Regions from separate parts of the Homo sapiens genome. Here region 2 is linked to region 1. Evidence: promoter capture Hi-C in 16 types of primary human blood cells and fetal thymus (Javierre and others, 2016). All regions are on one chromosome and are shown on one strand. Each heading gives the region's core, a stretch centred on a gene start or on the middle of the fragment in contact. The rest is flanking DNA. Distances are from core to core; before and after follow the strand shown.

Region 1 (5,051 bases), core at 1,421-3,920:
ATTTCTTGATACCAGGATTGTAAATCAACTTCTACTATGCAGCAGCACATTGTTAATCTATATGTAGTTACTGTATGAGTACATGTAGCTCACTTCTGGTTTTCAGTGACCAGTAATGAGTCCAAGAAGGAAATGTGACAACAGTCCTCTTGCTAGAAACTTCGATGGGACACGAGAATCTGAAATTATACTGAATTACAAAGAAAAAGCAAATTAGCTACTTTTTTTTTTAACCCTGAACTTATTTGTTTGTATCAAACATTTCTCCCCAATGTGCAAAGTATAATTAAAGATCACTGAATCTATTAACCATCTTTCTAAACATAAAACATCAAGCAACAAATGACAGAAACTCAGTTGGTATTACAGACCTTTTGCCTAAAAATTCTACAACAGGATCTTTTTTGTAAGTTAAACTCTGAACTTTTCATTACATTTGATCTTTTTATCACAAGTGATGTATTATAGTTTCTGATTATCTGGAATGATAAAACTGAGGTACTTTCTAGGCTAGTATATTTTCATAAGTGTGTTAGGCTGCATGAAAGTAGTACTCTAAGATCTCTCACAAACATTTTATACAGCCATGTAGAAAATTTCAAGGACAGAAAAATAAATGTCACTTAATTTTGCAGTATGCCCAGTAGATTTTAATAATCAATCCTCAAATAATAGAAAGTAAACAGCTATACTCTACATAACTCCCAACCTAATAGTTTACTGAATAGAGGGTTGTTAATCTTTCTTCAGCATATCAAAGAGTAGTTAACAAAAAATAAAATAACAATCCAATCTAAATCCTTCATCCTGGGTAAGGAGTAGAATAGAAGGGAGGGGCTGCGTGCCAAACACTTTTAATAACTTTTAATAAATAAGTTGACTCACCTATTATTTTCACAGCAATCTTAAAGTTTTTCTTTTTTCTTGCTTTTTTTTTTTTTGAGGTAAATATGTTTTCTTACCGATGCAGACAGGGAGGTAAAAATTAACTTGCTCAAAGTTACTCAGCCAATAATTGGTGGAGGTGGGGTACAAACAGGCAGTTTGGCTCAAGTTTTAGCTCTCTGCCACTGTCACATTACTCCACAGCCTCTGTTTAATATAAGATCACAACTAAATAAGAGCAGCTATTCAAAAGGTGAATTATATAGCCCTTACAACAATATTAAAGAGCAACTGGAATTGTAAAACAATGTGTATTGAAGGGCATAAAATTGTACTGTCAAGTGTAAATCTAAGGAGTTCTGTAAGTACAAATCTGACAGACAATTTCAATATACAATCTAATAAAATACTGTATACCCACGTCAGAGGAATAACACTAACTCTTGAAAGATTAAGAACAGTATAATTAGAAACTTCTACTGATCTTAAGACCTAGTCTTATCTGTCTGAACTCGAAATCTGCCTCTTTCTAATTCCCTTCTGCACCCTGTTCGGAACTACTTTATTTCTGCCAAATTCCAAAATTCCAAATTTACTGATCATGTGTGTCTTTTTCACAGCACTTAAAAAGTTTACAGAAGAATTTTAACTTGCATAGCTCAAAACATCTGTATTGTACGCCAATAAATCGATAAACTTAAAAAAAAAAAGAAGGGATAAAATGGAAGAAAGAAAAAATCATTCTAAGCAATGAAATAGTAAGGAACAGAAAGGCAATGATGAATGTAACAATTTATGATTATAGTAACAATTTACTACATGTGATCAATTTGAGGGCTTATGAAGGTTTCTCAGCACATCAGCTGATGAGACGACTAATAAATATCCTGAGTCCAAGATGTTCTACATAATTAATCCTCTTGGCAAAGAACAAGAACCAGGGAAAATCGCAAGGAAGAAATGCACAAATGACACGCATGTGGAATTAGGGGGAGATGTTATGTACGTTACTACGAGGATGACACACTGGCATGTGAAAGGTTTCTGGGCTCCACCAGCTCGTTGCAGCACCAACGAGGTTGTGGTTGTTTACACCACGTCGCCCGGAAAAAAGCCGGCAAGCTTCAAGTGGACTATTAAGTTAATAATATTGAAGGGAAAGAAGGGCAACGCAACTGAACATCTGGATGAGCAGATCCCTGCCTAGGCCCCGAGGCAGCTGACCAAGTCCAGATCATTCCCCCTTACGGTCTATGCGCACAAAGAACCAGCTGCTTTAGGTCAGTCCGCCGCCTCCTGCTACCCCTATTACCGTGGCCTTAATTTCAGGCCAGCTAAGGCCAGAGGATGGGGTGAAGGGAGGGGAGGAGCCCCGGGAAGGGTCAGCGTCTGCGCCCCAGGGGAGGCTGACCTTCCAGCTCAGGCCCGGGACAGCGCGACCACAGGAACTCCAGGCCCACAGCCGCGCCTCCGCAGCCGGATTCTGAGCGCGGCGCCTCCTTCCTTCCCCTGCTGCTCCACCACCACCTCCGTCTCTGTCTCCGCCGTCGCCAACACCGCCCCCCCTCAGGCCCCTCACAACGCGCAGCCTGCAGCCAGCTGCCTCGCGGCGGAACCCCACCCCACCCCACCCCACCTCGCCCTTGCTTTCGCTCGCCCTTTTAGGGGGCTTTCCCCGCCCCTTCCACTATCCAGCGCGCCGAAGCCCCCTGCCCAGAGCTCGGCTTTGCTACCTGGATCCGCTTCTTGTGTCTCCTGCGTTCCGCCATGTTGGCCGCTCCGCCCGGTTCCCTCTGACGTGGAGCGAGGAGGGGGCGGTGGAAACCTCGCGAGAACGCGCCCCGAGGCCCGTTATGTAATCCGCCGGCTGGCGCCCCTGGAATGGGGAGGTCGGCCGCCTGGCGGGGCCAGCGGTCCTTAGCGGTGCCTTCTCTCCCCTCTTCCCTCCGCTCCTGCTGTGCGGGAACTGGAGAATCGTTAGGACGTGGAGGAAGCAGAGAAGTGGATCAGAGAACAGGAGGGCTGGGAAGAGTCCTGGTTTCTCAATCCTGACTGAGCATCTGAATCACCTGAGAAGCTACTAAAATGCAGATTCCCCGACCCCATCCCCTTAGAGTCAGAGTCTGTGCATTTAGGGTGCGGCCTTTCTCAGAGGGATCGACTGAGACCTACTGAACCCTAGAAGTCTTTACCTGAGGCAGTTCCTGCAATGTACTGTATATTTCATGACATTCCATGTAAAAGATGACAAGACCGAGACCGTTGAGTGACAGAGATAAGAACTGACTTATCTAAGGCTCCACAGGTGGTAGATGGCAGAGCCGAGACCTGAGCCAATTATCTTTTCTCCTGCACTGTGCGGGGTAATACAGCTCGTTTAAAACAAGCTGGAGTCTCCATTCCGTTTTCCGCGTTGCTTCTCACAACTCACTGTTAGAATCCAGAAGTAAGAGAACCCGGGGAAGCGTAAGGAAGATGAATAGGACAAAGATTCTAAGAAGGTGGGAAGGAAGAAGGCTGCAGTCTATTTCAAGTCTGGTGAATTTCAATCACTGTAGCCTTTATTGTTATTTTAGAGCCACCTAGACCAAAAGAGAAGGAGCTCAAATTGCTGGTAAGTGCTTAGATAGAAATTCCCTTGACTGACTTTATAGAGATCTTTAAAGCGTTTTTAATTGTAGAAAATTGGGAAAATTCAGAATAGAAAGATGTTCTTTTTTTTTTGATGCTGAGTTTCGCTCTATATTGCCCAAGCTGGAGTGCAGTGGCGCAGTCTCGGCTCACTGCATCACCGAACTCCTCGTCTCAACTGATCTCCCTCCTCAGCCTCCTGAGTAGCTGGAACTACAGGCATGAGCCACCACACCTGGCTAATTTTTACTTTTTTTGTGTGGAGATGGAGTTTCCTTATGTTGCCCGGGCGGGTCTTGAACTCCTGGGCTCAAAACGATCCACCTGTCTCTGTCTCCTGAGTAACTGGAACTACAGGCGTGAGCCACTGTGACCGTTCAGTTTATTTTCTTATAGTATTCTGACTTTGTGTGTGTGTGTGCATGTGTGTTTGTATTTATATTTTTTCCTGTTTCCCAAATTGAGATCATATGCAATAAGGCAGCTGCTTTTTTCACTTAATGTTAGGTTGTAAGCGTTTATTATACCATTAAAATTTTTTTCCAGGTTTCCCATATTATATATCTAACCTAAGAGCAATTAAATATGTAAGTAAGGCAAATTGCAGCATCTTGATGCCTAATTTTTTAATAAAGTAAGATTGCTGAATTTTTTTTTTTTTTTTGGACTATGCAGTTCTGGTCTCAGGAGTCATTTAATTCCTTTCTCCTCTATAATCTATAATTTGGGTGTGTGTATAGTCAGGGATGGGGTGAGAAAGAAGTAATTATTCTTGCCAATTAACCCAAAACATAATATAGAATATGAAATGTCTTTATTTCCTTCAATCCCTCTACCCACCCAGAATGATGAATCTGTTTTGTGCTGTTTTATGTGGACATAAACACTGGACTATTTTATAGGAGACCTGGTCTATAAATGAAAATATTATTGCATTCAGTAGGTATTGAGTGCCTACTAGATAGATGTCAAATGTTAGGTTAGGACTATGGTGGGGAATAAAAATCCTTTATAGACAATGACTCATCCTCAAGTTACTGCCTTACTATTTTCTTCATCAGCAGAGCTTTAATTTAGTGTCCTCTTGTTCTGTCATTCACTCCTTAGATTACAACAATTTGGTTTCTACCTCCACCATCCAGTAACAATTATTTTGTCAAACCCAATACCTTCTCTCAGCTGGCATCTTACTCAGTATTTGACAATATTGACTGTTCTTCTTGACTTCTTTTCCTTCTTTGGCATGTATATCAACTTCTTTCTGATTTCTCGTTGACTTCTCTCCTTTTACCCAATTCTCACATGTTCCTGGCCACCGTTTTTATATGTTCACCTTCCTCTTGTCTCTTCTATTTGTGCATTCTGTTTACAGATTAATTCCAAAATACTGCATTCATGTTTAATTCCAGATTTCTTCTGGATGTTTCCACTGGATGTCCAACTAAAAATCACCATTTCCCCAGCAAAACCTGCCCCTTTTACTGTAAAAATCTAATAACTACATCGTTGTTCACTCAATTACTCATGCTAGAAAC
Region 2 (5,051 bases), core at 1,881-4,380, 2.8 Mb before region 1:
TTGGTGGAACACACATAGTACTACAACTCAAATCTAGTTAAGATGAAAACTGAATAGATGTCTTAAAGTGAACAACAAACAACTATTCTCATGTAATATTCACAATATGGATATTTCTTATGGCTTTACCATACATCCATGTCAATCATTATTCTAAGGCTCTCCAAAGGAGCGGTCCAATAGTTGTAACAGCCTTAATTTAGAATCAATGATAAATTCTATCCAGCCCTATTATTTTAAGTCTTCTACACTCAACCATTTCCAATGAAAAGGCATTAAAGTGGCTTTCATTCAAAGTCCCCTTAAAAGAATGTTTAAAAAAAAAAAAAAGTCAGGAGATGAGCTAACCTGCTTTAAGGACTGGAAGAGGAAAATCAAAAATACCATTTGAAAGGCCGGACGCGGTGGCTCACACTTGTAATCCTAGCACTTTGGGAGGCCAAGGCGGGCGGATCACGAGGTCAGGAGTTCGAGACCAGCCTGGCCAACACAATGAAACCCCGTCTCTACTAAAAATACAAAAATTAGCTGGGCTTGGTGGCAGGCACCTGTAATCCCAGCTACTCAGGAGGCTGAGGCAGGAGAATCGCTTGAACCCGGGAGGCAGAGGTTGCAGTGAGCCGAGATCGTGCCACTGCACTCCAGTCTAGGTAACAAGAGGTAGACTCCGTCTAAAAAAAAAAAAAAAACTTCTTGAAAATATTTACATTTTTCTCCTATGCCTCCCTCTTTAAGAGGGAGCACAGCAAATGATCAAAAGCAGATGATTAATAAAAGGGAGGGAGCATAGCAGATGATCGAAAGCAGATGATTAATAATTAAAATTGCCCCTGATGATACTGTATATGATCAATTTATTGCCAAAACAGCTTCAAAATGTATAGAGAAAAAGAGATGCACTACGGTAACTTGATGACATAACTAACATCCAACAGTCAGATTAGAAATGGAAATATATTAATCACTTTTTTTCAAATTACTGTATTCCAGAAGCCTTTAAAATAAGCACAATAGGATCAGTGTTCATAAACCTACACAGCTTCTCACCCAAGAACAGACCCAAGGAGCTTCTAACTAAACACACTATAACACATGCCCCCTTTTATCCCAGAGATAAAATTTGCCATGTAAACAAACATTCAAGTTTCCTTTTACTTAAATACTTTTTAGGCAATCATCTTCCAAGGTGAAGGACTAAAATGCAATCCAAGATATAATGGTGGTGTTATTAACAATAACATTACTATTAACAACTGACATTTACTTAACGCTTAATACGTGGCAGACATTGTCCTAAACCTTTTAATCTCTGCAGTAATCCTAAGAGGCAGGTACTATTATTATTTTCAATGTATGGATGAAGAAACGTAGGAACAGAGAGGTTAAGCAACTTCCCCTAAGTCAAACTGTTAGTAAGGGGTAAAAGAGGTATTCAAAGCCCGGCTAAATCCAGAGGCTGCGCCTTTAACCACTAAGCCGGACACATCTGTGCCGGGTGGCTGGGGAGGACGAGGGGCGGATGGCCTGGATTTATCTTGCAAAAACGAAAAATTAAACTTCCCGCAAAGAAGCCAGGATGAATCCTAGAATAAAACCACGGCGCACTCTGAGATAAGCCCCCAAAGGCTGCAAGTGCCGGCCCCCAAAGCCACAGGGCTGCGCGGCTTGCCAAAATCCCTTTCCCAACTCCCTCCCTTCACCCACACTCTTCTGTCCAAAAGAGCCAACAGGTGAGGGCGAAGATGCCCAGCAATACTGGGGGCTTCGGTCTCCCACTCCGCGTCAGGGCCCGGCTGCTGGGGGTGGGGTGCGGCGAGGGAGTTCCCGGATCCGGGAAGCCTGAGCTGGGGCGCTCCGGAATTCGCGGTCACTAGGGGCGGGGACGTCGACCGCAGGCAAAAGAGCCCTTGGCTCTGGAGCCGCTCGCCCACTTGCACCTCTCTCACTCACACAGAGTCCTTACCACTCTCAAAAAAGCCCTAGGAGTTCCACCTCTTCAAACGCCGACTCCTCTCACAAATACCGCCATTCCTCGCCGGCGGCCGCCACAACCGATTCAAAAACTAAGCTGCTCTCTCTAAGAGCCATGCCGATTGGCGCGTGATGTCAACCTCTTTCCCATAGGCAGGAGTCTCCAGAGGGGCGGTGATTGGTCGACGCTCTCCAAGTCCCGGCAGGCGCCGCTTGATTGGTTGTGCGTGTGTTTCAAATAAGCCCAACGACTCGGGCGTCGGGACGCCAGGAGTTTGCAGAGAAGTGCCCGGATGTGGCCAGGAGGTGGCGGTGGTGGCTCCTGAGGTCTTAAAGGAGTAGCAGGTGTTTCTGTGACTACCGCATATTTACTCAGTAAACATCCTACTTCCTGAGGAAAGTTTGGGTGGATTCTCCTCGGCCCCACCCAGCTTTTTTTTTTTTTTAAACGATACCAAATCTTTTAAGCTTAAATCAGTGCCGCCAGAGATAAATGTTTCCCTGCTGCTTGCTGTGAGCTGTAGGATTTTCCTATCGGGATGCTTTCTGCTTTAGGAATGTATTTAAATTTGAGTTAAGGGATTTTGACTTTGATGGTTGTATTGGCGTGTGGCAGGGCCAAGGACCGGTCCTAGAACTCGGACTCCCCAGGTGGACTTCAAATCAGCAGCCGCTTATTTAAATGCTATTATTTAAAGCACTGCGCTCCCATCTAGGGAGTATCGCGGGTTAGAATCAATTCTTAGAAATTAGAAAAATTCTCGGATTTTTTTAAAGATAAGCTTGAATTTGATAAAAATATGCCACGAGATTCTAGAATTTTTGGAGCCAAATTGCTTCGTCTTTGCCCCCCTCCGCCCACTAAGAACTTGTACTTTCCCCTAAAGTCTAGTCAAGAATGTATCAAGTTTTTCCTGTGATTAGCGTTGCTATTATGAAAATAATTTCTTTATTTTCTAAATATGATACCATATAACACAATCTCTTAAGAAAAATACACCCCCACCAGGTGGGTTTTCCATAGTTCCCACCTGAAGGCTAATATAAATAGAAGAAGAAAGGGGAATCAGATGCCAGAACCTAAATACCAATAAGAAGAGGCAAACGTGTACTTTGGGATGGAACACTTGTGAGCATCTCAAGCAGGTTGTGGGGACTTAACAATTTTTTCTAATTTTGTCAGGCAATCTTAGAATGCCTGAAAAGTTTATAATGCTGTCCACAAAATGAATGAAGCAATCTGGTAATTATTGGTTTCCCTGCTTGTCAGTATTTAAGTCTGACCTTCATTAAAATGCTGTGATAACTGTTACGGCAGAAAAAAAGAAAAACAGTAATTGAAATTTCCATTTGGAATGTGCTTGCGTATTTGGAAGTCGGGTGTGCCCAGCATTCCAAAAACGTTCATCACTGAAAACATATTAAGCTATTGTGGGAAGCAGCCCTACTTCCTTTGTGCACCGCTTTCTGCTCAACAGACTTTCCAAAGCTAATGATTAACTGTGTATGGTATCATTGCCATGAATTTTAAGCTTCCCTAACAAAAGCTGTACTTGATTTCTTTTAAGGGATGTGTGGCAGTTAGATTAACAAATAAACGGGTAATACAACCTTTTTCACTCTCTTAGGTCTTCATTTACTCAGCAAATATTTACTAATTTTAAGACAGCCATTGTGCTTGTTGGGGTTATAAAGATGAATAAGGCATAGAAAACTGCCTGTCTGGACCACACAATCTGGTGAGGGAAATTAGCAGATAAACAGATAATTACAGTATAAGGGAGAGAAGAAAGAGAATGAACATACTGATACTTTACTATGCACTTTATACCTTATTTAATCCTTAAAACAACCCACAAGTAGGTATCATAGTCCCATGATACCATGAAACTGTAGGAAAGGTTTAAGTAACTTACCCAGTGTCTCCTAATAAATATTTTAGCCCGCATTAGAACCCAGAAATAATAGATGAGTGTAAATAAAGTCTAGTATAGATCTGTCTGCAGGCTCAAAGAAAGCAATGTGGAGAGGAGTATTTCAGATAATCGTGTGCATAGGTGATCATATGCCACTTAATTGCACCTAGCAGAGGGCTGGTGTCTGGTAAAGTAAAACATGATCCCTCATCTTCAGGTATTTTCAAAAAGCTAGTACTGCAAAGGCAAATGTTACACATTGCTCTCTAATAAACACAGGAATCTTCACATGTAGGTACCAAATAAATATTTCGAGAGTGAATGAGCTAGATCCAAGTTCATTCATAATGTTTGAGAGACTGGATGTCCTGATTAACCTAATCATAGTTTATTCATTTAATAACTATTAAGCACCCATTAGGTACTATGCTAGCACTGAGAATATAGGTGTGACAAGACAAATATGGGCCTTGTTCTCATGGCACTTCTAGCAGATAGCTGTATTTGCGGTGAAAAATTTATTGCATGCATAGGTTTTCACAGAATTCAAATACCTACAAAACAATGATACAAGTAACTTAGTCTTACTGAGTCAGAAGCTGTTTCAAGTGCTATAGTGTTTCAAGATCAGCATTATGAAAAATTTTTAAATACTATATACGGCATAGGCAATTGAACTGAATGGCATATTAACCTTGAACTTTTTTAAAAACATAAATTCTTAATATTAGCTTGTTTACGTGCACTTTAGGCTCTCATAAAAGCTCAATATATATAGGAGACAGTAAACAGTTTGGTGTGGCTGGATCATAATATACATGAAGAGGACAGTGGAAGACAACTGACATACGCTAGGTTAGGCTAGGTGTGGGGGCTCATGCCTATAATTCCAGCACTTTGGGAGACTAAGGCAGGAGGATCCCTTGAAGCCGGGAGTTCAAGACCAGCCTAGGTAGTGACTGCACTCCATCCTGGGCGATAGAGCAAGACCGCCCCTCCCCCCCACCATCCAGCCCCCATCTCAAAAAAAAATAAATGCTGGCCAGGTGCAGTGGCTCATGCCTGTAATCCCAGGCATGAGATTACATGCCTTTGGAAGGCCCAGGCGGGCGGATCACGAGGTCAGGAGATCGAGACCATCCTGGCTAACATGGTGAAATCCTG

The links. The method cuts DNA at HindIII sites, captures the fragments that hold promoters and counts their contacts. A CHiCAGO score of 5 or more calls a contact.
Region 2: a fragment that was not itself captured here is called in contact with the fragment with the promoter of SEC62 in region 1 in 3 of 17 cell types (fetal thymus, naive CD8 T cells and total CD8 T cells); the score reaches 14.2 in fetal thymus.

The regions. Positions count from the first base shown.
Region 1 is chr3:169,964,426-169,969,476 of GRCh38, reverse strand. SEC62 (SEC62 preprotein translocation factor) reads right to left here and starts at 2,670. Exons shown (of 8, transcript NM_003262.4): 1 at 2,619-2,670. The coding sequence starts at 2,654. It also overlaps the pseudogene FHL1P1. RefSeq lists enhancers at 463-995, 2,552-2,991. The HindIII fragment of the contact is 8,040 bases long and covers 2,010-5,051 here.
Region 2 is chr3:172,747,770-172,752,820 of GRCh38, reverse strand. ECT2 (epithelial cell transforming 2) reads right to left here and starts at 2,095. Exons shown (of 25, transcript NM_001258315.2): 1 at 1,964-2,095. RefSeq lists a silencer at 1,680-1,749 and enhancers at 1,860-2,119, 2,140-2,189, 2,290-2,559. The HindIII fragment of the contact is 750 bases long and covers 2,756-3,505 here.